Regions from separate parts of the Homo sapiens genome. Here regions 2, 3, 4, 5 and 6 are each linked to region 1. Evidence: promoter capture Hi-C in 16 types of primary human blood cells and fetal thymus (Javierre and others, 2016). All regions are on one chromosome and are shown on one strand. The core of a region is centred on a gene start or on the middle of the fragment in contact, and the rest is flanking DNA. Distances in the headings are between cores, read along the strand shown. Region 1 holds the start of NAPEPLD (N-acyl phosphatidylethanolamine phospholipase D). Region 2 holds the start of FAM185A (family with sequence similarity 185 member A). Region 3 overlaps FBXL13 (F-box and leucine rich repeat protein 13). Region 4 overlaps FBXL13 (F-box and leucine rich repeat protein 13). Region 5 overlaps FBXL13 (F-box and leucine rich repeat protein 13). Region 6 overlaps SLC26A5 (solute carrier family 26 member 5).

The links. Contacts are between HindIII fragments. The CHiCAGO score rates a contact against its expected background, and 5 or more counts as called.
Region 2: a fragment that was not itself captured here is called in contact with the fragment with the promoter of NAPEPLD in region 1 in 1 of 17 cell types (fetal thymus); the score reaches 11.1 in fetal thymus.
Region 3: a contact is called between a fragment that was not itself captured here and the fragment with the promoter of NAPEPLD in region 1, in 2 of 17 cell types (M2 macrophages and M0 macrophages). The highest score is 6.3, in M2 macrophages.
Region 4: a fragment that was not itself captured here is called in contact with the fragment with the promoter of NAPEPLD in region 1 in 1 of 17 cell types (monocytes); the score reaches 5.2 in monocytes.
Region 5: a contact is called between a fragment that was not itself captured here and the fragment with the promoter of NAPEPLD in region 1, in 1 of 17 cell types (neutrophils). The highest score is 6.4, in neutrophils.
Region 6: a fragment that was not itself captured here is called in contact with the fragment with the promoter of NAPEPLD in region 1 in 2 of 17 cell types (M2 macrophages and M1 macrophages); the score reaches 5.4 in M2 macrophages.

What each region holds. Positions count from the first base shown.
Region 1 is chr7:103,146,608-103,151,047 of GRCh38, forward strand. NAPEPLD (N-acyl phosphatidylethanolamine phospholipase D) reads right to left here and starts at 2,492. Exons shown (of 5, transcript NM_001122838.3): 1 at 2,204-2,492. It overlaps LOC105375434, which reads left to right. Exons shown (of 3, transcript XM_047421168.1): 2 at 2,411-3,957. The coding sequence ends at 3,213. The HindIII fragment of the contact is 3,849 bases long and covers 1-3,638 here.
Region 2 is chr7:102,747,632-102,752,071 of GRCh38, forward strand. FAM185A (family with sequence similarity 185 member A) reads left to right here and starts at 1,368. Exons shown (of 8, transcript NM_001145268.2): 1 at 1,368-2,027; 2 at 4,061-4,170. The coding sequence starts at 1,577. It also overlaps the pseudogene RASA4DP. RefSeq lists silencers at 1,058-1,147, 1,188-1,357 and an enhancer at 1,091-1,385. The HindIII fragment of the contact is 1,652 bases long and covers 897-2,548 here.
Region 3 is chr7:102,808,916-102,813,355 of GRCh38, forward strand. FBXL13 (F-box and leucine rich repeat protein 13) reads right to left here. Exons shown (of 21, transcript NM_001394494.2): 21 at 2,274-4,440. The coding sequence ends at 4,427. FAM185A (family with sequence similarity 185 member A) reads left to right here. Exons shown (of 8, transcript NM_001145268.2): 8 at 1-310. Among named protein-coding and RNA genes, the nearest start is that of FAM185A, 62 kb to the left of the region's middle. The HindIII fragment of the contact is 3,439 bases long and covers 1-3,352 here.
Region 4 is chr7:102,829,309-102,833,748 of GRCh38, forward strand. It overlaps FBXL13 (F-box and leucine rich repeat protein 13), which reads right to left. Exons shown (of 21, transcript NM_001394494.2): 19 at 3,532-3,666. It also overlaps a transcript of FAM185A not described here. Among named protein-coding and RNA genes, the nearest start is that of LRRC17, 81 kb to the right of the region's middle. The HindIII fragment of the contact is 655 bases long and covers 1,703-2,357 here.
Region 5 is chr7:102,875,895-102,880,334 of GRCh38, forward strand. It overlaps FBXL13 (F-box and leucine rich repeat protein 13), which reads right to left. Exons shown (of 21, transcript NM_001394494.2): 16 at 2,437-2,556; 17 at 1,573-1,699. Among named protein-coding and RNA genes, the nearest start is that of LRRC17, 35 kb to the right of the region's middle. RefSeq lists an enhancer at 1-861. The HindIII fragment of the contact is 5,125 bases long and covers 1-4,423 here.
Region 6 is chr7:103,411,599-103,416,038 of GRCh38, forward strand. SLC26A5 (solute carrier family 26 member 5) reads right to left here. Exons shown (of 20, transcript NM_198999.3): 5 at 1,404-1,514. Among named protein-coding and RNA genes, the nearest start is that of SLC26A5-AS1, 31 kb to the right of the region's middle. The HindIII fragment of the contact is 694 bases long and covers 1,395-2,088 here.

The sequences.
Region 1 (4,440 bases), core at 1,242-3,741:
TTGAATTATGCTGATCCATCTACATGCCAGACCTGTGCCTCCAGAGCCAACAGCACTGGCCATTCACAACCTGTTACCCACAGGCAGGGGTGCAATCTGTGAGTGTGTTGCTGACCAACGCTTGCTAATCCACACCCCTCCACTTTCGCTTCATTGGAACCCCGCTGTAACAAGAGTCTGCAGTGTATATATTCTGCTGAAGGCTGGGGCTGCTGAGCTAAGGTTCCTTGGCCAAATCACCAGACTCTCCCAGGCTCTTGGTGTCCTATTTTCCTCATCTGTGGAACAAGGCTCATATTTTATGTCTATAAAATCAAACTCTCTCTATATATATACATATATTTAAAATATTTGAAAGAGCTTTGTAAATGATAAAGTTATAATACATTATTTAACCAGCTGAGGTTGCAGAAGACTATCTCTAACATAAAACTGCCCCTGGGGATATATGAGTTCGTATGCAATCTGTCTCCAAAGTCTGTTAGTAAAATACTTAAATACACAATAAATGGTTAATAAATTCAAAAGACAAATCAAGCAAAGCACTATAAATTGTAGACAGAATTATTCAGTAGTATAGGCGTTAGAATGAAATATTACTTGAATCTTATGCTGGAAATCACATGGGTGATATTTTAATGCCAGTTTTATGCATGCCCTCACTGGCCTCCAGAATAAAAGTGCTCTTTAACGATTAATTATACATACAGTTCATTTCCCTAATAATACTTCAATGAAAACACTTTTTATGTGTATGCATTTCAACCTAAAAAGCCCAGATCAACAGTCCTCCAGCTATAGCTATATTCTTATTTACAAAGTGTAGAAAGCAATGGAAAAACTCACTATATCCACAGCTATCCATCACCACAAAGAAAAAGCAGAATGAAACAACAAAATTAAAGGCAAATACTGCTTTTCCAAACACAGACTAAATGTTCATAAAAATCCTCTCAGTTTACCAAACTCACAAATACTCAAAGTAACATAATACCCCTTTCGAACAAACACAAGAATGACTGTATCAACTAAAGTATAACCAAAACCCTGTGATGGAATGCTTATGCTAAAATGTTCTTCATATAGTTATAACTGGACTAATTTTAAAATTAGAATTTTGTAACATAGAATTTCTACAATATAATTTGGAATTCTGAGTGAAAATAAGGGTATGAGAAATACACTAAGTATTTTTATCTCTTGGAGACTTACCATAATTCTTGTAGCAGGAAAGCCTGCAGAATGTTAACAAAACAAAATCTCTGAAAATCCTGACTATATTTTCAGTTGACTTGAAACAAATTTAACCCCTCAATCTCTCCTTAAATTATTATTTTAAATAAGTACTTTTACCCTAAATTTCTTCTTTAACAGACCCAGTATTTTCTTGCAACAAAAATCACACTATTGTGGGATATAGGTAATCTTCTTTTTAAAGATTACATAACTTCTTTCTAAACGATGTCCATGTCTGCGGCTAATTCATAACCAATGTAACTGAAAATAGAAATGGAAATGTTAGAGATTTCCATTTTTTAACAAACATGGGAATTATTTCTCAATTTGAAGAACTGCATCTCAGGAATGACTTCCTGGACAAATTAATCAGAATTATCAAGTAGCAAACATTTCATGCTAAGCCAAAGCCAACCAGGTGAGTCAGTCATATTATAACATGTATATATAACAACGTACAGTAAAGGCAAAGACAAGAACTAAATGACTTTTTAAAAGGCTGTTAAACTTTACTCACTCCCTTAATATTTTCCAGGTTTAACTGACGTATAATGAATGCATGTGATCCCGGAACCCATGGAAGAGTATCTACCATATCGAGCTCTAGCTTGAAAAAAAAAAAAAAGGAAAAAACAAACAAACAAAACAACAACAACAAAAACCTATCTGAATACGTGTTCTGAAAAGCCCACAATAATACCCAATTTATAAGAAGCAAACAACCACAGAACAGAAAACTCAAGAAAGCACAGCCTTCCACCACCCCTCCCCAGCTAGCCCCATTTTTTTTTTTGCTCTTCATTTCCATTCCATAGTTAAATAAGTACACTTATTCCAAAATAAAAGGGGAGAAACCTGTTGGAATGGATTTTTAGAAGATAAACACTATAGATGAAGCAACAATAAGTTGCTCGGAGGAAGTTGTCGACCCATTCATTTACATACAACCAAAAGAAGATAAACCCACATGTATTCCTATCAGTGAAGATGCAACCTGGTAATTTGCAGGGAAGATAGGATCTCAAATCCCAGACAGCTACTCTCCCAAAGAGAAAAAAAATAATGCTGTGGCTCTTCACCGAGGCAGCTTCAGAGATGCAGGCTCCGCAACTCGCGAGGTGCGAAAATTCAAATGAAGCCCTGTCGCTCACAAGTGCGGCATCTCCGAGATGAGGGAGGGCTCGGGGACGGGAAACCCACTCTCAGCCCGCTCCACTTCGCCGAAGAATTCCAAACCACCCCAGGCTCAGCAGTGTGGATTGCTCCGCCCAGAGACCGTGGAGGAGGCAGCAGAGAGGTCACAGAGCACAGCAGGCGGGAGAAAACCGCCTCCCGCGAGGTCCAACAGAAACCACGGAGCTCCGGACACTCGGGATCCCGGGCCGCGGGCGCGCGGCCAGAGCGGCGGGGTGCGAGCGCGGGGGTGCGGACTCACCTCGCGCTTGGGGTGGCCGGGAGCGCGCGCCGCCTCAGTTCCGCGGCTTCCGGCCACAGAGTCCCCGCGCAAAGCGCCGCCGCGTAGCGGGAGGGGCGACCGCGGCAGGCGCTCGGGTTCTTCCTAACCCGAGCCCGCCGCGCTGGCTCCGCCGAGGACGCCAGCAGCTGCAGGCAGCGCTTCAGCTCTCGCCGCCTCGCCATCGTTGGGGCGAGTCGTCGCCGGGTCACTCCCTTATTATGACCTTCGAATCTGACAGCAGGGCCAGCGGTGGCCTCCTTCAGGCTGCCTCTCCAGCCCTTACCAAGATGGCCGCCCCTGTGGGCCGGGGCGCCGAAGCCATCTTGGTAAAGGAAGCGCCTGGGAGCACGCGGCCTGCCCCGGCCCGCCTCGCGACTCAAACACTCTGCAGGGACCCTCCTAAGATCAAATTGGTTCCCCCCGCTGTCCTAAGCCAGAGGCTTACTTTCAGATCGCATGAACGCATTCCTGGACACCAGCCACAGTTGCTAAAACTAAATGGGATCCTGCAGACCCATTGACGGACTGTCATAGCCAACTCAATCACAGTCGAGAAGCATTTGAATACTTACAGCCTATGGCGCTAGGATCCTGGTAGCGAAGAAACTAAACTCTAATTTGAAATGTTGTACAGTACGTATTGAATATTAATGGGAGCACGGCATTGTTCACTGTGTGATCGTTTACTTTTAAAATGATGTCACAGCCCCCTGGTACACACGGTTCTCATCTAAATTTGCATCTTTTTTAACGCTAGGATAACTATGAAAGAGCATACGATTGTGATTCTGAGTTTCTTACTGGATTTGCTTTTTAAACTGCAGAATGAAATTAGTTGTTTCAAGAAGTAAAGTACAGGCATGTCGAAGTAAAATTCAACAATGGGTTGTTGGGCAAAAAGATTATAAAAGTCCTGGGGTGTGCCAGGGTCAAAAAAAAAAAAAAAAGCTTGTCCCTGGGGTTATCTTGGCAAAAAAGAAACCACCACCACAGGTTCTAAATGCAGATAAGACTGGCAGAAAAATGCAGACCAAACTATTCTGCATTTTGAAAGTGAATGTGCCTGTGTGACATTGGAGGAATGTAAAGAACTGTATGTCAAGTGTGGACTTTATCTCCTCAGGCTAGCTTAGAGTGGCTGCTGAACTTAAGGGTGATTAAGAGCTGCTTGCACCTGGGTGGAGCTGAAACTGCATAAGGTGAATAATACCTTTGTGCAACAGAAGAAAAAAAAAAAAGTAACAGCATACATACAAACCCAAAGGGTAAGTTGAAGTTACTACTCAAAAGTTCTTCATAGTGTTCTTGACTAAGCAACGGAGAAGTAATCCCGGCACTTTGGGAGGGCAAGGCAGGAGAATCCTTAGAGCCCAGGAGTTGGAGACCAACTTGGGCAACATAGCGAGACTTCATCTCTACAAATAATAATTAAAAAAAAAAAAAAGTAGCCAGCCTTGATGGCCCGCCCTTGTGGTCCCAGCTACTCCAGAGGCTGAGGTGGGAGGATCGATTGAGCCTGGGAGATCAAGGCCGCAGTGAGCTGTGATCACGCCACTACACTCCAGCCTGGGCAACAGAGAAGACCCCATTTCCCCAAAAAAAAAAAAAAAGCTGGGCGCAGTGGCTCACGCCTGTAATTCCAGCACTTTGGGAGGCCAAGGCAGGAGGATCACCTGAGGTCAGGAGTTCGAGACCAGCCTGGCCAACATGGCGAAACCCTGTCTCAAGTAAAAATACAAAAACTAGCT
Region 2 (4,440 bases), core at 473-2,972, 400 kb before region 1:
GTCTATCTATCACGATAGCCCCAAGAATTCTGGTCATTGTACTTGGGTAAGGGCTTCTATTTTTTAAGGCACTTGCATTTTATGAAATGTTAGTGTTTGCAGGTGTCTTGGCTAAATAATTTAGGGAATACATTTTAGGAGGAAGTAGGGGCACAGAGGGGGAGAGAGAAACCAGGCAGGAAAGAAGAAAAAAAGAAAAAAGAAGAAAATAAATCTTTCTGTTCCCATTATTTTACTGCCTATAGAATTATAAAAGGTAAACACACACACACACACACACACACACACACACACACCCCTTATAGGGTCATTTAGAACCATCTTTCTTCATTTTAAAACTAAAGAAACAGGTCTAGGTGACACAGATGAAGCAGTGGCAGAGCCAGGAAAATAACCTGACCCTTGTCCCTGCTCTTTCCACCGCACCATGGTGACTCTCTTTTTTGTGTCTTTTTTTTTTTTTTCACTCTAAAACTGAGGATCATTTGTAGTCAAAGAGATCAATGCTATTCTCAAAACAAGTTCTGATCTCTCATAATTTTCTTGGTAACTCAGAATCAATGTTAAGTACGTTGAAATAAAAATACAGTTCTTTACACGGTAATTTTGTAGACTGTGCACCACGGTCCCATCCATTTTCTTACTTGATCCTTACAAAAACCCTTTGAGGCAAGGCAAGGAAGGTATTATTATCTACATTTTTAAAGTGAGCAAATTAAAACCCAAAGTAAGGTCACTTAGGGTCAGGACGGAGCAAGTACTCTATTCCTATATTTGGAATATAGGAGGGAATACACTTCCAAAGAGGCAATTCCCTCAAAAAGCACCAATCTTGCTCTTTACTTTCTTACCAAGGCATTCTCCATGCCCTGGAGATGCCCTCACTAAGTTAGTGAAGCTTGGATGTTGACATCCACAGAGGTTACTCCTAGTTTGCACCTAGTTGTCATCTTAAAAAGCGCAGTTTCTTACCCCTTCCCTTGGTCCTGATCCTTATTTAGGCTCCTATTTTTCTCTTTGGGATTTGGCGTCCTGGGTCTCACTCCAAAGCTCCACCCTCTCCAACCAAGAAGTCGCGTGCTTGGTATCCAAGGTGACCACGCAGCTTTACCCGCGTTGCCCCTTCCGTGCTTCCCATTGGCCAGTGGACTCCCATGTACCGCCCCTCCAATAGCCAATGGTCTTGAGACAAAGGGCGCCCGCCTTTCCAGCGATTCTAACACCTACCCTCTTACCCGTGCTCCCCTGCGCATTGCCTCCTGGGAAATGTGGTTTCTAAGAGGCAGAGCTCTGCGACTTAGAACTACCTATCCCGTCGGCCTTAGCGAAAGGGGGTGGACTTAGGCAAGGGGTCCAGGTCAGAGTTTAGAGCTTTCAAATCCCAACTTGCCCCTGGGGATTGCGCGGCTGATGTTTAGAACGCCTAGTCAAGCCAACCGGCTCGCTCTTGTTTCAGCAAACCCTGACTTACGTCTCCTATTTGACTTGAGGCGGCACAGTGGCCAAGTCGATTGGCCGTGGCAAGTGACCCTCCCTGTGGCTGAAGTGTTCTGAGGACTGGCGAGAGAGGCGCGCCATGCTTGCCCCCTGCTCAGGTTGGGAGCTTGGCTGCTTCCGTCTCTGTCTCCGTCAGGTCCGACTGTGGGCTGGCGCTGGGCGCTGGGCTTGCTGGGCTTGCCAAGCCAGGCCGTACAGCTCAGGTGGGAGCGAGCGCTGGCCCGGATCGGAGACTGAGGTCCCTCCGCCTGGCCCGGGGCGCCGAACTCTGAAGGAGTGGACACTGCAGGTGAGCCCGTTTGGTCGGCTGCGGGCGCGGCTCCCGTGCCACCTGGCCGTGAGGCCCCTGGACCCCCTCACCTACCCGGATGGCGACCGCGTGCTGGTCGCGGTGTGCGGCGTGGAGGGCGGCGTGCGGGGCCTGGACGGCCTGCAGGTGAAGTACGACGAGGATCTGGAGGAGATGGCCATTGTGTCTGATACTATCCACCCCCAGGCGTCCGTGGAGGTGAACGCGCCCCTGAAGTTTGGCAAGTGAAGTGAAGTGAAAACGGGTTTGGGTCCCAGGGAACGCACAGTGAACTTAATAAATGTGGTCGACGTGCACTTTTAATTGGTCCTGGCTCTCTAAACCTAATTTACAGTTGGCCCCTTCGGAAATGCACCTTTTCCTCTGTTCTGTTCTTGAGTGTCCGAGTAGTATTTAAAAATTAGGTTCCCAATTATAGAAATTTTATACATCGAATGGAAACATGATTTGGTATAATCCAGGTCAAATTCTATTTCTGGAGCCGCTTGTGTTCTCCTTTATCCCGTTGTCATTAGCAAACTGGCTTATTTTTCAAGGTTGAAGTTTCTTGACAATTCATTCAATGGTATGGCAGTCCATCTACATTTCATCTTGCTCACAGCCTGGGGGTCTGTCCCAAAACAGCCCTGTCAATAGGATGTTCCGGGTATCACCTGGTTTGAGTATTTGGTTTTAGACGGGCGCCCAGCTTCTTACTGTTATATTTCCATTCTTTTTGGCCTAAGTTTTCCATGAGTAGCAAGCTTTGAAGAAAAACACATGGTAAGCCTGCCTAGGAAGCTTCAATAATAATGCCTGCAAGATACCTTTCTTAGCTTTTCCTAAATGGCAAGCCACTGTGTACACACACTTTTCTAGGAAGGGCTCCCCAGACTGTCATTCTTCCTGGGACTGATGGAAGATATTGATGATGATGATGATAGTAATAATAATAGCATTTAGCATTTTTAAGATCATCTTTTATAATGCTTAGAGTTGCCCAAATAGTAGATGCCGTAGTCCTCCCTTATCCACCGTTTGGCTGTCTCAGTTTGTTACCTGCCTCAGCTGTTGTAGGAAAATATTAAGATATTTTGACAGATCACAGTAATATAACTTTTATTACAGTATATTGTTATAATTGCTGTATTTGTTATTATTGTTCATCTCTTACTATGCCTAGTTTATAAATTAAACTTGATCATTGATATGTATACAGGAAAAAACATAGAATATATAGGATTTGGTACTATTTGTGGTTTCAGGAATCAAGTGGGGGGGCGGGTCTTGCCTACTTTAAGAGAAATCATCAATATTTATGTTAATTCCAAATTAAATATCAGCGTTTTTAATTTTTAAAATTTGTATACAGAGATGCCTGCAGTTACATCTTAAATAGACAGCCAAGGATGGCATTTGTAATTCCTTATTTTCCAAACTTGCTTCATATACCACTGCCATTTGTCCACAATCTTGTGGGGTTTTTTGTTTGTTTGTTTTGGTTTTTTTTGAGACTGCATCTCACTCACTCTGCCACGCAGGCTGGAGTACAGGTGCACAATCATGGCCCACTGCAGTCTTGACTTCACGGTTTTAAGCAATCTTCTCGCCTCCACCTCCTGAGTAGCTGGGACTACAGGTGCATGCTACCATGCCCGGCTAATGTTTTTGTTTTTTTGTAGAAATGGAGTTTTGCTACATTGTCCAGGCTGGTCTTGAACTCCTGGGCTTCAAGCAATCCTCCTTCCTCGGCCTCCCAAAGTGCTGGTATTACAGGCATGAGCCACTGCTCATGGCCTAATCTTGTAGTTTTAATAGTATATATTAGCTTTTTCAAAGTTGTTCCCATTTTTAAAAAATTACTTCAAATACCTGTGATATAGTTGCATGGTAATATTTTCATTTTTTAAGTATGAAAGGTTAGACATAGGATTTGAAAACCTAAGTCATGATCATATATACTGGGGAAGAGGCTTCTACAGTCTTTCACAGGAGTACTTAACAGAATCGTAGTCTCCTTTACTTCCCATCTATGTTAGTTCTCTTTAGGTGATTTAGGCCAGTAGAAATAACTGCTCTGTTTCTAAAAACGGGCAGAAAGGCTATTGTTTTTGGTCCCGTTGCTGTGGTAGAAGACCCCTTACCTTTACAGTATGCACTTTCCAGGATTCAGCAATATTACGGACATAACTGAGGAGTTGGGTTTCTAGGTTAAAATGCTTTGGAGCTTATAAACTGCAGTACTAACTTGCTTTTTTCTTTTTTTACTTCTAGGTTTAGATATCAAGTCATCAGGGTCTGGCTGTGTAAAAGTTCAAAGTATTGAGGGTGATAATTGCAAAATTGAAACAGAGCATGGGACTAGTATCTTGCAGTCTGTTAAGGTATAGCATTTTTCTAATTTTATTTCACTATTATTTTTTTAAAAGCCTTAAGCTATGAATCGTACTATCAAACTCAAGAGATTCTTCTGTTTTTCAGAACATTGTCATTCATTCATCTCTCAGAAAGTCCTTGGCAAACATTTTGCCTTGAAATCAGTTCTAGTAAAGTACAGAGGTTATAGCAGTTTTGAGGTTTTGCCTCAAATTTCTTTTGGATTTAATTTCAAAGTGTACAGTGAAACTAATAGTATTTTCCTAGTATTCTGAAAT
Region 3 (4,440 bases), core at 383-2,882, 340 kb before region 1:
AATATCTGACTTCTTCTGCAGCCAGCTGGAAGAATATATACTTTTAAAGGGCTCACTTGATTAGGTCAGGCCCACCCAGGATAACCTTTGTTTTGCCATATAATGTAACATTCATAGGAGTGATGGCCCATCACATTCAGTTTTCACTCCCACTCAAGGAAAGGAGATTATACAAAGGCATCCATCATGTGGGGACAATTAGCTTAGAATTCTTTATAATGTAGCTCTCACATGACAGGTTTTCTACTTAGTACCTTTTATGGCATCAATGTAAATTTAAGCTGTAAATAAAAAACAAATATGTGAAGCAGTTGCTACTGATTCTTAATATCTTTTGTGTAACTTAAGATATAGCTAATTAGGAAAAAAGAAACAGCTATTTTATAGCCTGATGTATGAAGATAGATTTTTATAAAGGTATACTGTATAAAGATATTTTATGAATTCCATTTCTTTCAAACATCTCTATTCCTGGAACATTTAAATTATATAATACTGGCCAGGCACAGTGGCTCATGACTGTAATCCCAGCAGTTTGGAGGCCAAGGTGGATGGATCACTTGAGGTCAGGAGTTTGAGACCAGCCTGGCTAACATGGTAAAACCCCATCTCTACAAGAAATACAAAAAAAAGAAAATTAGCTGGGTATGGTGGCTCATCCCTGTAATCCCAGCTATTTGGGAGCCTGAGGCAGGAGAATCGCTTGAACCTGGGAGGCAGAGGTTGCAGTAAGCCGAGATCACACCACTTTACTCCAGCCTGGACAACAGAGTGAAACTCCGTCTCAAAAAAATTAATTAAAATAAACAAATAAGTTATATAATACTATAACTATACTATAAGACCAGACCTATCTCTTGGTGATGTAGTTTGGATATCTGTCCCCCAAAATCTCATGATGAAATGTAATCCCCAGTGTTGGAGGTGGGGCCTGATTGGATCATGTGGGCAGATTTCTCATTAATTGTTACCACCACCTTCTTGGTTCTGTCCTCATGATAGTGAGTTCTTGCAAGATCTGACTGTTTAAAAGTGTGGGTATCTTCCCCGTCTCTCTCTTGCTCCTGCTCTTGCCATGTGATGTGCCTGCTCCCACTTTGCCTTCTGCCATGAGTAAAAGCTCCCTAAGGCCTCCCCAGAAGCCAAGCAGAGAGGCCCGTGCGATGCTTTCACAGCCTGCAGAACCAATTAAACCTCGTGAGTCAATTAAACCTCTTTTCTTTAGAAATCACCCAGCTTCAGGTATTCCTTTATAGCAAAACAAGAATGGCCTAAATCGCTTGGATTATATTTTTTATGATTAAGATAAGTCAGTTCTTTTTTTGTTTGTTTTTTGAGACAGGGTCTTGCTCTGCCACTCAGGCTGGAGTGCAGTGGCACAATCTTGGCTCACCGCAACCTCTGCCTCCGAGGTTCAAGCGATTCCCATGCCTCAGCCACCACAGTAGCTAGCATTACAGGTGCACGCCACCATGCCCAGCTAAGTTTTGTATTTTTACTAGAGATGGGTTTCACCATGTTGGCCAGGCTGGTCTTGAACTCCTGGCCTCATGTGATCTGCCTGCCTCAGCCTCCCAAAGTGCTGGGATTACAGGTGTGAGCCACTGCACCGGGCCAGGAGAAGTCCATTCTTAAACACTAATTTTTAATAAACCTTTCCAAATATTATTATTTATGATGATCTTTTTCTTTTTTTCAGACGAGGTCTCACTCTGTTGCCCAGGCTGGAGTGCAGTGGCATGATCATAGCTCATTGAAGCCTTAAACTCCTGGCCTCAGGCATCCTCCTGCCTCAGCCTCCTGAGTTGCTGGGATTACAGGCAGGTGCCACCATGCTCTAATTTTTAAATTTTTTATAGAGATGGGTTTTACTATGTTCATCAGGTCTCGAACTCCTGGCCTCCAGTTGTCCTTCTGCCTTGGCCTCCCAAAGTGCTGTGATTATAGGCATGAACCACTGTGCCCAGCCTCCTTTTCATTAATTTTCCATTTCTTTAGAGTTCTGTTTTTAACTTCTTATTTATGAAACAAAAGTCAGCTTTGTAGGATATCTCAGAGTCTCCTTTTAGTTCACCCTTCATGAAATCAGAATGTATACAAGTCTGAAAGATACTCACACATTGGTATATTTGGTATGGTTGTGGTGTGTTATACTATTAAGTAGAGGAAACTGTGTAGCAGTGAGGCAGTTTTGATAATCTTTTTTCACCCTCATGCAATTACATAAACATTTTCATGACTAAAAATAAATTAGCTAACCACAGCCAGAAAAGTCATAAGCATAACAGCAGTCAACTATATTTAAAGCTACTAATGGAATTGTACATATTTGGATCACATTGTTAAGTCCCAGACAAAAAGAAAAAGCTGCCATAATTTACTCTCTTGGACACAGACCTATGAATATGAAATACGTAAGGGCTAAAGACCTAACTAATATCTTTGATATTTTGAGTAGTTTGCATCGAAAACTTAAAAGATTTCTCTACCTGTATCCCTATTCTTGGTCTCCTTTCATAGCTCACTTTTTCTACTCCTTTTCTTCATTTATGTAGCTGTAAAATTTGTCTCCCCAGAATGAATGAATGTGTCTTCTGTTCTTGTTTAAGAAAGGATGTTACTCAAAGAGCTTTGGAGCAAGCTCTGAATGTAAAGCAACCTGCTAGGTTTCTGGAGAACATAACAGGGTGTGTTTCTTACCGGGGTCTAACCAGTGCAGGTGTCATTCCTTTAGAAAGCAATTGCCTCTTTTATAAGTTCCACCAGTTGTGTGCATGAAGCACTTAGGGATCAGATTTTTGAAAACATCTTTAATGCAGCTGCCAGAAATTTCCAAATTTAGGTTAAAATCATACTCTTATGTCATCTTATGTCTCTTGGCTATGGTCTAAAACTTCCCACTCAAATGATTCTGTTGCCTGTGTGCCCACTCCTAGGAACCTTTCCACAGCTAAGTAATATTACCTTATTTCAAAAACTTTGCAAGTCAACCTCAGTGGGGGAGAATTACTAAAAGCATTTAGCTAATACAAGGTAGCCTATAATAATACTTTGTACAATCTTTTTAAAACTTTTCAAAATAACGATGCTTTATCTTAAGTTTTTAATCCTTATTTGAAACTTGTGGGATACAAAAAGAGAATTAACTCCACGTGAGAGATAAGTAATTGAGGAAATAGAAAGGTTAAAAGGCTGATCTGATATTGCTGACAAGGCTTGTTTGCGGCAGTCAGAACAGAGTTGTGTTTTCTCTTGGACTGTGTCAACATCAGTGTTACATAATATCAAATAATGGTAAAAACCCACAGATGTGCTCACTTCGGCAGCACATATACTAAAACCTACGGATTAAAGCTTATTAAAAACTAATATGTAGATATGCAATTAATAACCCATACTTCCTAGCATAAAATTGAGGGAGCATCTTTTTTGGCATAGCATAGTTTAAGAATTCCTCCGTTGTGCAAATTTGATTAAAGAGATGTCTTTCTGAGACATTGCAGGGACATTCTTTCTATTCAGATAGTTCTTGTTTCTATTTAATTTGCCCCTGACTAAGTCAAATGTTGAGATAAGTACAGAGTTAATTGGCGGCATTTAGTTCTCTTTTGTTGTTAAATGTCTGGAAACCACAGAAAAGCCACATTTCCTTTGAAAATATTAATATATGTCTGTATTCTTTATAAAGCCTTAAAAAGCGTTACAGATCCTTAAAGTTATTCCCCTGGCTCAAACTCTTAGTTTGACATATGGCCATCTCTGCTTTCTTTTTCCTTTCTAAAGAAAAATTTCTTAATTTCTTGTCAAAAAAGTCTCATCTCTCAGGGTTGTTTCATATAACTGTAGATTTTATAATCTCATCAAAACTATTGGTTTGATTAAATTTAGGCAGAAATTTTGTGTAGTCAGTACTTGATTTGGCTTCTTTTTTTTTTTTTTTTTTTTGAGACGGAGTCTTGCTCTGTCGCCGAGGCTGGAATGCAGTGACGTGATCTAGGCTCACTGCAACCTCCGCCTCTCAGGTTCAAGCAAGTCCCCTGCCTCAGCCTCCTGAGTAGCTGGGATTACAGGCGCCCACCACCACACCCGGCTAATTTTTGTATTTTTAGTAAAGATGGGGTTTCACCATGTTGGCCAGGCTGGTCTTGAACTCCTGACTTATGGTCCACCCGCCTTGGCCTACCAAAGTGCTAGGATTACAGGTGTGAGCCACCGCTCCTGGCCTGGCTTCTTTTTTAAATCATGATTATTTAGACAGAAGAACTACTGATGTGTTTGGAAATATTTGTAGTTGGAATAAGAATCAGAAGATGGTTTGTTGCTTGTTTACATTGTTATTGAGATTCAGCTAGTAAACATACTTGCAACAAATGGAGAAAACTTGCCAAGTTCTTGATTTTTTGTTCTTCCTGCTTGAGGCTGAAGGTCACGCTGCTTGGT
Region 4 (4,440 bases), core at 780-3,279, 320 kb before region 1:
TCTCACCAGACTCAGACAAGTTGGTAATCAGTGCACAGTGGACCTGCTTCACATCACCTACACTTGTAGGACAGAAATGCAGTTCTAAAGCACTGGCCTGCTTTCGCTTACCTTATCCCTCTCAGAGGTGCATTGCAGAGACATTTTGTCATTGTTCAGGGCTTTGCTTTAATTTTTCTCATTTCCCACCCCCTTTTCTTTCTAATCATTACTAACTCCCACTTCACGTCGGTCATGAGGGTCAAAAGTGACAGTGTTAACCACAGGGCCTAGTGCACTGCTGAGTGCTTTGAACTGGCCCCAGAGCAACCAGCTTTTCCTCTGATTTGTAGCTATATTTGTTTTCCTTGGCATTTTAGTGTCGAGTAGGATGAGGTCACAGTACTACTAACTGACCTTCGAGGTGAGGTGGTTGCAAGGAAAAGCCGGCCTTTCTGGGGATAGATAAGGTGACCATTCAAAATTCACCTGTGGACTTTTGGGAAACCTGGCACAGAATGATGAGCCAGACACCAATGTGTTTTACGGCTCATCAAAATCAACATAAGTGGAATATGTTAGGTTGGACCACAGCCTTATGAATTCAGGGTGAGTTGAGGAGTATTCAGATTGGTCCAGATGATGGTCCCCACATCTTCTCAATCAGGATACTCATCTGACCCACAGTCTGACCAGAACAATTCAGATGGTAAAGCTAAATCTTTCTACTCCTTTGTATCAGCGTTCTAAAATAATTGACTCTTCCTTCTTCCTCTTTCTCCCTCTAAACCTTTGATACAGAGTGATGCATTTCTTGCATATTTGTTTAACATCCCCCTTAGCTTCTGGGCTGCAAGACAATAGCCATGCACAGTTTACAGAAGGAATTCCCTCAGCCTTCATAACAAAAAACAAAAAACCAAAGCAAACAAACAAACAAACAAAATCCTCTGCCCTATTTTCTGTTTGCACTGGAGCCTTTTCTTTTCTCATTCTCCTACTTTCTGCTTTAGAGCCACTAAGAAACCCAGTCTCCATCTGTGCCTGCTTTATAGCCAGGGCAGTTCTCACTTCTCACTAAGCCATGTGTTGCCCATATGTCTGTGTGCTATGAACGCAAGAATCTCTGTGAACTATCACTGTTTAAGTTGCAGAGAGTCAGTTGGTCAGCGCTTCTAGTGTTCTGGGTCCCTTGACCCAGCTCACTAATAGAACCAGATGATGCTGACCAGAAAGACATCTGGTTCCCCTAGTTCTAAACAAGTATATTATTAAACAAAAATAATTTTGCTGTGAACTTTTTGGCTTAGTTTTGTCACGGTTTACCACATCTTTTTCCCTGCTGCCTCCTCCTTTTTATTGCAGCACAATTAGCTAACCATACAAACCAAACAACATAGAAGCTGAACTTCTAGATTAAATAAAGCGTAGGGCATCTTGAGAGTTGGTGTGATGCTGTAGTAAACAAAAGCCTTCAGTGTGTACAATAGAAGAGAACACGATTGTTAATAACCTTGTAATTTCTGAGGATTTTCAAAAAAATTTCTTAGTTTTCTTCCTTCTTCATATTTTGCTAACTCCAAGTTTTTCCTGTTAATTTGTGTTGATCAATATCTTCCACTTTAGAGACTTTCCTCTTATGTCTGGTAATCCTTTTGTTCACGATTAAGAGTGGAGGACTAAAAACTAATCGGAAGGTCAGAGTACACGCATCTCTATTGTAAGCTTCAATGAAGGATGATCTACGTGTGTTATTTGTTGGGAACCACCCCTGTCAGTCATTTTAGGTCTTTCATCTTGGGCTAGTCAGGGTTCCCAGAGAAGAGGCTACCAATCTCCCACCTGGAGAAGAAGATCTGGCAGCCAAGTTCTTGATGCTCAGTTGGAAAAAGTGCTTGAATATCTCTGCACTCAGCATTGAGTCACTTAGTTAGCCTAGCAACCCTCTGTTTTAGTATCTCTAGAGTAGTGGGTAATTCAAGAACAATTTTGGCCCTCACCTCCACCAGAGAACATGTGGTAAGGTCTGGAGGGATGGGATCTTATGTGCTACTGACATATAGTGAGTAGAGGGCAGGCATGCTGTTAAACATCTACAGTGCCCGGGACACACACACACACACACACACACACACACACACACACCCCACTACAGAGAGTTATCTTGTCCAAAATATGAATAGTGTCAGGGATGAAGAACCAGAATTTAGGAAATAAATCTCCAGGCTTCTGTTTGGGGTGGGGAGAGACAGTTGCCCAGATTTATGGAGTAGGGGCTGGAATCTAGAGATCTATCTACTTCTTAAGAATCTCTAACTCAGTCTCCCTTATTTTCATCCCCACTCTTAACCCAGTTCCAAAGGTACACGGTGCTCCCAAGCTTGAAGATTGTGGTGTAAATCAGATTTTTTTTTCCAGCTTTCTCTACTGTTGGCTTAGGATTCAAAGCAGTCTCTGGTCTGCTAAATTAGTCCATCTATTTTCAAGCTTCCAAATTTTTGTTGCTCTTATCTCCTCTCCTGTTTTCCTTATCCATATGGGCCCTCACTCTTCATCTCTAGTTCTGGTAGCGTTTCAAGAGGAACAAAATTATATGTGTATATTCAGTCTACTATTATTAATCCAGAACCTGAGATCTCTAGTTCTTTACATGGAGATATGTCCATAGTATATTAAAAAGTAGGTTACAATGTATTTTGGAAAGTATGATTCTATTATTTTAAAAAACAAGGCAAAACACAAACTTTCTGTAACTATTTCTAATCTTTTTGTGCATAGAAAAAAATCTAGAAGAATAAAATACCAGCGATGGTTATGTCCAGGTGGTGACAGGACAATGGATATTTACTTTCTCCCTTAAGCTTTTATATGTAGTCCAAATTTTTCATAATGAGTACTTACTTCATTTATATACAGAGGTCCCAGAAAAATTATAAAACACTTGAAAATAACACAAAAGATGATGGTATGTCCTTGGAGTGTCAAACTGGAACACTGTTTAACAGGCCTACCTGGAGAATTCTATAGGAAATCATGCCTTTGTTTGACATACCATTTACTGTCCACTAAGGCCCTAGCTCAATGAAGTTATATGTTGTTATATTTTTGTCCAGGAAAGATGCAAATTATTTGTATCTGGTATAAACTGTAACCCCAAGGTTATGGATTTAATAACTTGTAAAACACTTTTAGATCTAACCTAACACTCTTAATGCAACATTCTTTCATCAGTTCCTACAAATACTAAGTTCATTCAAATGCTCTACGCACTGGCTTTGTCATTTTGTTGGTTCTCTCATTAGTGAATTAAAGAAATCTTTGACACATGTTTATATTTGTATGAGAATTATGTTTTTAACTTTTGGAAAATTCTACTTTGACACCAGTGGAATCATAAGCTATTTCCAATTTGAGGATAGAAGAAAAAAATCCAATGAATACCTCAACCATGGCAAAGAGAACATATTCTGAGTCCAGCCCTGATCGCTGTCCTGCCTTGTCCCTTGGCAGTGCTTAAATTGGATGTGTTTGAGCCCTGACTCCTGCACATACCTTTGGACAGCCAGCAATGCTGAGAGATGTGAGGTTAATGCAGTAAATGGCCAGTGCTTTGATAATCATATCTGACAGCTGGGAGCAATAAGAGACATCCAAATGTTCCAAGATCAGTGAGCTTTTGCAGAATGCCTGCAAAAAATTCCAAGGTCAAATTTTTTCTTTTCTTTAGTCATCTAGAACTGTCTTACTTATAGTAGCTTATTAAATGTACATTTCAGTCCCTGAAATACAGATGTTAGATCTTGATGCCCCCAAAAAATAATTTAAAAAACCCATGTTACATCCAACATCTGTTTATAGCAAAAGATATTCACAAAGCAGCTTAACAGCTTAGTGATATTCAAATGCCTGCTAACAAAATTTGGTTTTCTTGAAGTTAGGTCTAATGAAGTTTGACTCATATGGTCAGTAATGAGTAGAAGAAAAGAAATCTGAGGGTAAGATTATATGGCAGACACTCCAAGATTGACAGTGGAATGTAATGGAAAGAACAGATTCTTTGGAATCAGACAGACCCGAGTTTTGCTTTCGTTTCCACCATTTATTACCTCTTAAATCTTAGCAAGTTACTATCTTTCTGAGCCTGTTTCCTTTTTTTTTTTTTTTTTGAGAGTCTTCCTCTGTTGCCCAGGCTTGGAGTGCAATGGTGCAATCTGAGCTCACTGCAACCTCTGTCTGCCAGGTTCAAGTGATCTTGTGCCTCTTGTGCCTATTGGGACTACAGGCGTGCACCACCACGCCCGGCTAATTCTTTTTTTTTTTTTTTAGTAGAGATGGGGTTTCTCTAGGTTGCCCAGGCTGGTCTTGAACTCCTGACCTCAAGTGATCCACCCTCCCAAAGTGCTGGGATTATAGGCATGAGCCACTGTGCCCAGCTCCTCTTTTTTAACTTAGGGAAAATAA
Region 5 (4,440 bases), core at 611-3,110, 270 kb before region 1:
CAGCTGATGATGATGATGCAAAGAAAGGTAGAGGAAAACCCTGGAATGTCCCTTCTACTGGCCCTGTAATCACTCAGAAATGTCTCACAAGCACCAACCCTAACATGGAATCTAGTTGACTTGTGTGAGTCACCCTGTAGCAGAGCAAGGGGAGGGTGAGTCATGAGTTTGAGGGCAAACACATTCATGATGTGGGAGCAAGAAAATGTCTCCAGCAGGTGTCTAGGACTGTGGACCTAAGACAGCCTCACAGGATCTCCATGACCCAGGAAGACCCAGAGGAGCCCAGAGCAAGGCAGACACGACAGGGAAACCTGAAGACTTGAAGGGGCCTTGGAGTTGGAACAAGGAAGAGACATCAGGGATCCACCTGGACGGGAAACTAAACACCAAATGGGCCCTCGTACATCTCAGTGAATTCCAGCTTGGACAGAAGACAACATTGAGAAGACCAGACACTGACCCTGCCATAATGAGTTGACTCCATGGTACTGCTTCCTACCCACAATCTCACATCACTCATGGACGATATGGAAGGGAAGAGGAGGTCATCTAGCAGAAAGGAGGCTGAATCCAAGTTCATTCATAGATAAAGAAAGGAAAGAACCTAGACCAATGAACAGATCTAGTCCTTCATTTAAAAGACCCCACCGAATGTTGACGAAGGATAAACACATAACAGATGTCTGCAATGCAGTGAGAAATAGAAACGGTTCATGTTAAAGGATACACTGGGGCTGGAGATGCAAGCAGAGAAATTCCAGTGCTTGCCTGCAAGGTAGGGCTTCTCAGAGAAGGCCCTCATAGACAGTTGATATTTCAGGGATGAATAGGGATTTAGCAAGCAGATGGAGGAGGGATCCTTACCTCCCTATATCTTCCTATATCCCTCCTATATAGGAAGGATATAGGATATAAGATATTGTCTTCCTATATCCCTCCAAATGCATGATTTTCAAGAGAAGTCCATATATTCCTTGTATAACTATAGCCCATAGTTCTTTCAGAAACATGGCAAATCTCTCAGGGTTATCCTCCTTTTGATTAGTAAATGGGGCAGTCCCAGAGGGATAAGATGGATGTGGCCTGAGTCTCAACCCTGATGAATACAATCAGCAGCTTGCAGGAAATGAATTCCATATCCTTTTGTAGATTTGTTGAGGCCATTTCTAGAGTTTAGTCTTGAACTAAAGACTTAGATCTCAAGGCATTCGGGTAGTCTCATAAAATGTGCAATCCGTAAGAAAAATATAGTTAAGCCATCTAACATATATTATCTCCATACTGACCAAACTTCTGTAATGAAACAAATCTCAAATTATCATGACATACTCTTATCTGTCATGACTTTCCCCAAAATACTGTATTTTGCTATTTTTTAAACAGAGAAACATGACTGTTGATTCAAAGAAACTTTTCTATCACCCTTCTAGAAACAATATCCCTAAACTTAACTTTTATAATAGAATAACAAATAAAACATATTATTGTTCTCTCCATTATTTACAAAATAGCAAATAATTGTATTATAGAAAACAATAAAAGTCATTGTACTGTTTTGAATTTTTTTACCTCATTAGAGATGTCTGTTCCAGAGAGATCTATTGATACCAAGGAAAAGATGTTTACAATATATCCAATTCCTTGGGCAGTCAAATGTTCACAATTTCGTAAACTCAAGTAGTTTAAATTAGGGCAGCTAAAAGAAAGTAGCATGGATTAATTTTAGCTGTCAATCATATTGTCAGTAAGCAATTTCTTCATATAAAAACTATCTTGGGAAAACAAATGGTATTGAAGCAAAGATTTTCCTTTACTCAACATAAAAGTAAGACTAAAAGTAGAAAGTAATTTGACATTACAAAGTTGCATGAAAGGGCAGTAGATTATTATATGACTTTCTTTCTGTAATTTAGTTTCGTATTACAATTTCTAATAAGGAAAAAATATGTCACATATCAAAAACTATCATGTAAGTACCATAGTGAATGACCACTAAAAGTGCAAGTTAAGAACCCTACTTATCCCTTACAAGTTTGCTACAGGAATTGTACAAGACCTCTGACAAGAGGGGAGTCAAGAATAAACCAGCCAGAACACCCCTTGGGAAATGCTGGAGTAAAGATAATCTCCTGGAAAAGGGAGATTAGAGAAAATCTCCTTGAAAAAGTACAGGGAAGCCACCCATATCTAGATATTCATCATTTCAGGAACGACTCCCTCAGATGTAATTTAAATATAATAATATAATTTAAAAATTGGTCCAATCTATGACTTCAATGTCTTTCACATGGTTTCACTGAACATTTAACCAGCTTCTGGGCATCTCTGATGTTCCCCCAAATGTCATGAAATCTTTGCTTTTAGGTGTCTCATGTCTCCTATTATCAAATATACAATACTAATGATATGATGTAAAAGACTGTTTTATCATACCGCTCAGATAGTTTCATAACAGAGGCATCACTTAGCCGCACACAGTTGCTTAAATTTAGCTCTCTTATCCTCATGCTTGCAGGACCATCAAGAAATTGCTTTAGTCCCATATCACCAATTCTGTAGGAAAGAGAGAAAAATTTTACATGTGATTCTATATATAAACATATAGAATAGTATTAAAGTAATAGCTACCATACCCAATATATTTCTAAAATAGCAAGGTAATATCTATATACTGGTATTTTGTCAATATTTTAAAACCAAATTTGATTATATAGATTTTAATGTAATAAAATGTATAAATGAGAGGAATGGGAGAAGTATTAATTAAAATGTTATTTCTGTTCCTTTGTTCATAATTTTTAATAAGACAGATGGCCCTCAAGGTCTTTTTCTCTTGGGTTAAAAAGTGATCAAGTTAAGTAGTCCCTGATACCATTTCCTGCAAAAGAAAAAGATCAAAACTTAGGAGAGTGAGAACCAAGACTAAGAGTCAAACTACTGCCATGATTTTGGAGGAATTTTCACTAAATACAAGGTCAATTTGCTGGATAGGAAACCCAATATGAGCCCTTTGGCTTCTTTCCTTCTGAATCAGAGAAAACCTGATGCTGGAAGAAGACCTTGACCTCAGCCTTCCCAAACTATCCTAATCAGAAACTTCTTCTGTGTGTCAGTGCCATAACCCTACCATGTTGATCTTGCTTTATAAATGGCTGGATGTCTGTTTGGCCCATCAGTTCCCTGTCTTCCATTGGGATCTTCATTTCTAATTCCAATTGAGAACCACCAGATCCTTCTAAGAAGCATTTCAGCAAATAAAGCAGGACAGGAGTTTCCACCATTGCAATCCTAAGAGGCAGTTTCACAACAGCTCTACAGGTGGGCGTACAGATGGGAAGAACACTGGGAGCAAAACATACTGATTGCTGACATCCGTTTACACCCTCCGTTTGTTCAGATTTGCAAAGAACTGAGCAGTTAAGGCAAAAGATATCCTGTTTCAGCTGAATGAGCCATAGTAGGTGGATGCGATGCCTGTGTGCCCATCAACCTTCCACCTATAAGAGGGGGAGTGTGCCAGCACCTAGGAAAGCAGTTAAGGATGTGTGTGTGTGTGTGTGTGTGTGTGTGTGTGTAGAAATTCATATTATAGTCAAGAAAGGATTAAAAGTGAATGGAAAAGATTATTGAGGTAATGATCCAAATTAATTGGTTAATACATTTAGGGCCAAACCTGGATATCAAAAGTATCCATGCTGTTTTTTTGTTTGTTTGTTTGTTTTTTAATACACAAGCTGGGGTTTCATCCCTAAAGATTCAGACTCAATAGCTCTGAAGTGGGGCTTGGGCATCTATAGTTTTTTTTGTATGTTTGTTTGTTTGTTTTTGAGACCAAGTCTCTCTCTGTCGCCCAGGCTGGAGTGCAGTGGCACGATCTCAGCTCACTACAAGCTCTGCCTCCTGGGTTCACACCATTCTCCTGCCTCAGCCTCCCGAGTAGCTAGGACTACAGGCGACTGCCACCATGCCTGGCTAATTCTGTGTATTTTTAGTAGAGACGGGGTTTCACCATGTTAGCCAGGATGGTCTCGATCTCCTGACCTCGTGATCCGCCCACCTGGGCCTCCCAAAGTGCTGGGATTACAGGCGTGAGCCACCACGCCCGACGGGCATCTATAGTTTTATTCAGCTCCTCAGGTGATTCTGACACCTTAGGATTTTTACTTTTAAATTCTTTTAAATATGTATTTTTAATTTATCTTTTTGTTGCTGATTCCCATTGCTTTGTAGAGAGAGAATACCATTTGTTGATAAAAATAGTTTGAAAGTTGCTGGAACTTGCTTTTAAATTTTGTCCATGCATGATTTTTTAAAGGATTGATGTGTGTTTGAGAAAAACAAAAATTCTTTAACTACCCAACTTACTATTTTAGGTTTAACTCTTATATGTACATATTAAAATCTTAAAACTCTGAAATTAAGCTTAATCTTTTTACC
Region 6 (4,440 bases), core at 492-2,991, 260 kb after region 1:
AGCATGAAGATCCCTGTTCAGGGTTCAGAGTATCTGATATGGTTTTTGCCAGTACACCAAGAGACAAAGGTGAGGTCAAGAAATCATGCTTGAAGGAAGGCTACGCTCCCTTCTTTAGTGTCCTGCCCCTGGTGTATGAGCAACCGTGTGTGTGCGTGTGTGCGCATGCAGACTGTATTTTCCAAAAATAGACATAGCAATATCTTCCATCCACAGAGTCTTCTTGACATTTCCCCATCAAGAGGTGGAGTCTAATTTCTCTCTCCTTGAATCTGGCTTGGCTTTGACTTGTTAGTAATCAAAAGAATGCAGCAGAAGTGACGTTGTGTGACTTCTCAGGCTAGGTAATAAAAGGGCTGCAGTTTCCACCTTCTGCTGAAGCCCTAAGTCACCATGTGTAAGAAAGCTCCAACTAGGCCAAGTGGAGAATTCCTGGGACTGCATGGAGAAAGGAAGGCAGGGAAGAGGGAAGGGAGGGAGGAAAAAGGGAGAGAGGAAGAATTACCCAGACCAGCCCTTCCCAAGTCCTGAACTGCAGGCACTATGGAAGATACAAACATGATTGTTGTTGTAAAGCTGCTACATTTTGGGGGTATTTGTTACCAAACAGTAGATATCTGGAAAGTATGTGTGTGTTAGGTAGTAGCCTTATGCAGCACCAGAACTATTATGAAATCCATATGCCCCTGATAAACTGAAAATATGTACAATTCAGAGCCCAAAATATGACAAAAATGAAATACATGCATAGCGATTAGGAACTTGAAGTACTACCATTAGTATAAAAATAAAAACCAGAAGCTGGCAAATTACATTATGAAATCAAGCATTTATCTCATTTCACAGATTTCAACAATTGCCCTTTTACACAAGAAAATTGTCTTTTTTATTATCCCAAGATTATAAGAAAATTGTAAGTTCTAGAAATCTTGGGAGGAGTGTAGTTTTTTTTTTGTTTTTTTTTTTTTTGAGACAGAGTCTCGTTCTGTTGCCCAGGTTGGAGTGCAGTGGTGTGATCTCAGCTCACTGCAATCTCTGCCTCCCAGGTTGAAGCGATTCTCCTGCCTCAGCCTCCTGAGTAGCTGGGATTACAGTCACCCCTCACCAAGCCTGGCAAATTTTTGTATTTTTACAAAGAGATGGGGTTTCACTATGTTGGTCTGGCTGGTCTCGAACTACTGACCTCAGACGATCTGCCCGCCTCGGCCTCCCAGAGTGCTGGGATTACAGGGATGAGCCACCGCACCTGGCCGAGTGTAGGTTTTTAAAGCACCTATTGTGTATGCAGTAACAAAAGTTGTTATTAAGACAATTTTTAATAATGACCATGCTATTTCTTTGGCACATTGCAAGGTTGGAAATACACAAGGAAAGGTAATAGAATATCAAATGTAAGCTTTTACCTATGGATATGTGTCTGGAGGTTCCAAGAAAACAATACATGATAACAGGGTAAAATGAAGAGTACAGGCCAAATATTGGAGGCACAGCTGCCAGCATTGCAAAGGCTAAGCCTGTGGGATTAAAAACCAAACAGAAATGGGGGATCATTAGAAGACAGAGGTGTTACATGTGTTTTTCTCTTGGTTCTTTATTTCTGATGAACGAGTGAAGCCCATCTTAATTTAAGCTGCAACCTGCCCTACCCCAGTCCTGCACATCATCTTACCTTGGTGCTGATAGAGTCCAAGCTGAGAAACTTTGCATTGTCATCTCCTTTTTGCCAGTGGGTGATTTTTTTTTCTGCTTTATTCTTTCACAAATTAGATAAAAGCAGAAAAAAGTCTTATCTTAGTGGTTGTCATTGTAATTTGGTGTTGACTCACAAATGCGAGCTCGTTCTCCAATGGGGTGTTTTTGTGGGTTCTCTGGAGACCCCTTTGCAATAAGGGACTCTCAGTTACTATGCCCTAACCTATGTAATGCTCCCTCCTCCTGACTCTTAGATATCCCTCCTCCGACTCTTATCAGAAGGTACAGCCTTCCACGTTCTTTTGGCTGGTGTATGCTCATCCTGTAGGCAGTCTTCTTAGGCAGGTACCTATCAAATGGGCCAAGTCTCATTACCTTCCAGTTACTCAATGGGAAAGCTTGACATTTTACTCCCAAGAAACTTTGGAAGTGCAGGTCACACCCTCTAGGGGACTCTTTCCCTCACTCTGCGGTCCTAGGCAGTTCACATCATCCTTTAGACATTTTTTTTTAAATAGAATTTTTAGAGCAGTTTAGGTTCACAGCAAATTGAGCAAAAGATACAGAGGTTTTCCATACATTCCCTGCCCTTATGTATGCACAGCCTCCCCCACTATCAACATCCCCCACTATCAACATCCCCCACCAGAGTGGCACATCTGTTACAAGTGATGAACCTACATTGACCTATCACTATCACCCAAAGTCCATAGTTTACATGAGGTTTACTCTTGGTGTGGTACAGTCTATGCAAATGTACAATGACAGGTAGCCATCATGATAGTGTGATATAAAGTAGTTTCACTGCTCAGAAATTCTCTGTGCTCTATTCATACTTCCCTCCCCCCATCCCCTGGACACTAATGATATTTTTACTGTCTTTGAAGTTTTGCCCCCCCCTTTTTTTTTTTTTAAGACAGGGTCTTGCTCTGTCACCCAGGCTGGAGTACAGGGGCATGTTCATGGCTCAATGCAGCCACAACCTCCCGGGCTCAAGCAATCCTCCCACCTCAGCCTCCCTAGTAGTTGGGACTACAGGTGTGTACCATCACACCTGGCTAATTTTTGTAGAGACAGAGTTTCCCCATGTTTCCCAGGCTGGTCTTGAACTCCTAGGCTCAGGCGATCTGCCCACCTCAGCCTCCCAAAGTGCTGGGATTACAGGCATAAGTCACTGTGCCTGGCCAGTTTGGCCTTTTTTAGAATGTCATTCAGTTGGGATCATACAGTATTAAGCTACACCAGGCTGACTTCTTTCACTAAGTAATAAGCATTTAAGGTTCCTTCATGTCTTTTCATGGCTTGATAGCTCATTCCTTTTTAATATTGAATATTTCATTGTTTGGATGTACCACAGTTTATCCATTCATCTACTGAAGGCCATCTTGATTGCTTCCAAGGTTTGGCAATTATGAATAAAGCTGCTATAAACATCCATGTGCAGGTTCACTTGAAAGTTTTTTAAAAACTAGTTTTTAGAGCAGCTGGACTTTTTCATGCAAGAATTAGGCAGCAGTCTTCACAAACTCCAGGGGGTACTGTTCAGCACGCTGAGCAGCTTTCTTGTAGTCCTTTCTTACTTGACTACAGGTGGAGGGGAAATGGATAGGGTTTTAACCTCTCCCTGGAAAATTCTCATTCCAAATCAGTCTCCTCGTTCCCTCATATATTCTGTTAAAGTGACACACTCAAGAGGGCCTGGGTCATTCATTCATAGCTTGGGATAGATTGACTGGCATCCCTCTTCAGAATGTGTAGGCAATAAGCCCTTTTTATTCTCAGCTTTGGGGGCTCAGCCAAATTTCTGGGACAATTAGAAAACTCATTTAATGCACTGTTATGCTGTGGAGAAAACAGCTTTAGCAAAAGAAGAGTTGGGAAAGCATCCTAACTTCATGTATAATAACATGGTCACTCGAATGTTGTTAAAAAAATTTATTTCTAGCAAAGAAATGTATGCATACGATTTAAAAAGCCAAGCAGCAAAGGCTCTCTGGAAGAGCCAGCTCTTTTCTGCTCACCCCTCTTCCTCCAGGTTTTGCTCCTCGGAGCCAATCACTTCCAACTCGTTTAGCTGTTTTTCTCTATTTACCTCCATTTTCCTAAATCATCATTCTCAAAGGAGAGCGCTCCCCCACCCCCACTTCTGGCAGGAGACATTTGGGGATGTCTGGAGACATTTTTGATTATCATGATGTGGGTACCGGGTGGGAGTATTACTGGCATCTAGTGGGTGAAGGCCAGGGGTGCTGCTAAGTGCCCTTCACTGCACAAGACAGGCCCCCAACAACAGAGTAAATGGCATCAGGTTGAGAAAACTCGTTCTAAATATGTTTGTATCATGATTTCTCAGTTTATCAATTTTAGATGCAAACTTAATTTTCCATTGTGTTTACCTTTCAGCTTTTCATTATGTGACTTTTTTTCTTTCTAGTCTGAGATCCTCTATTTATCCCTGGTATTCTATTTTACTATGGTGTGCCTTGTTTTATTTTTCATTTATTCTGCTGGGTATTTAATGATTTCTCTCAGTCTGAAAACACATGTATTTCATTCCTGGGGATTACTCTTTGATCATTTCTTCCTTCTGTTTACTCTCTTCTTTCTTTCTGGAAGTCCTATTAGATGTATGATGGGACATCAGGCTTGATCCTCTGGTGTTCTTATGTTTTCTCTCTTACTGTCTTTTTCTTCTACTTCCAGGAGATTTCCTCTACTTTATCTTCCAACCCTGACTAAATATTTATT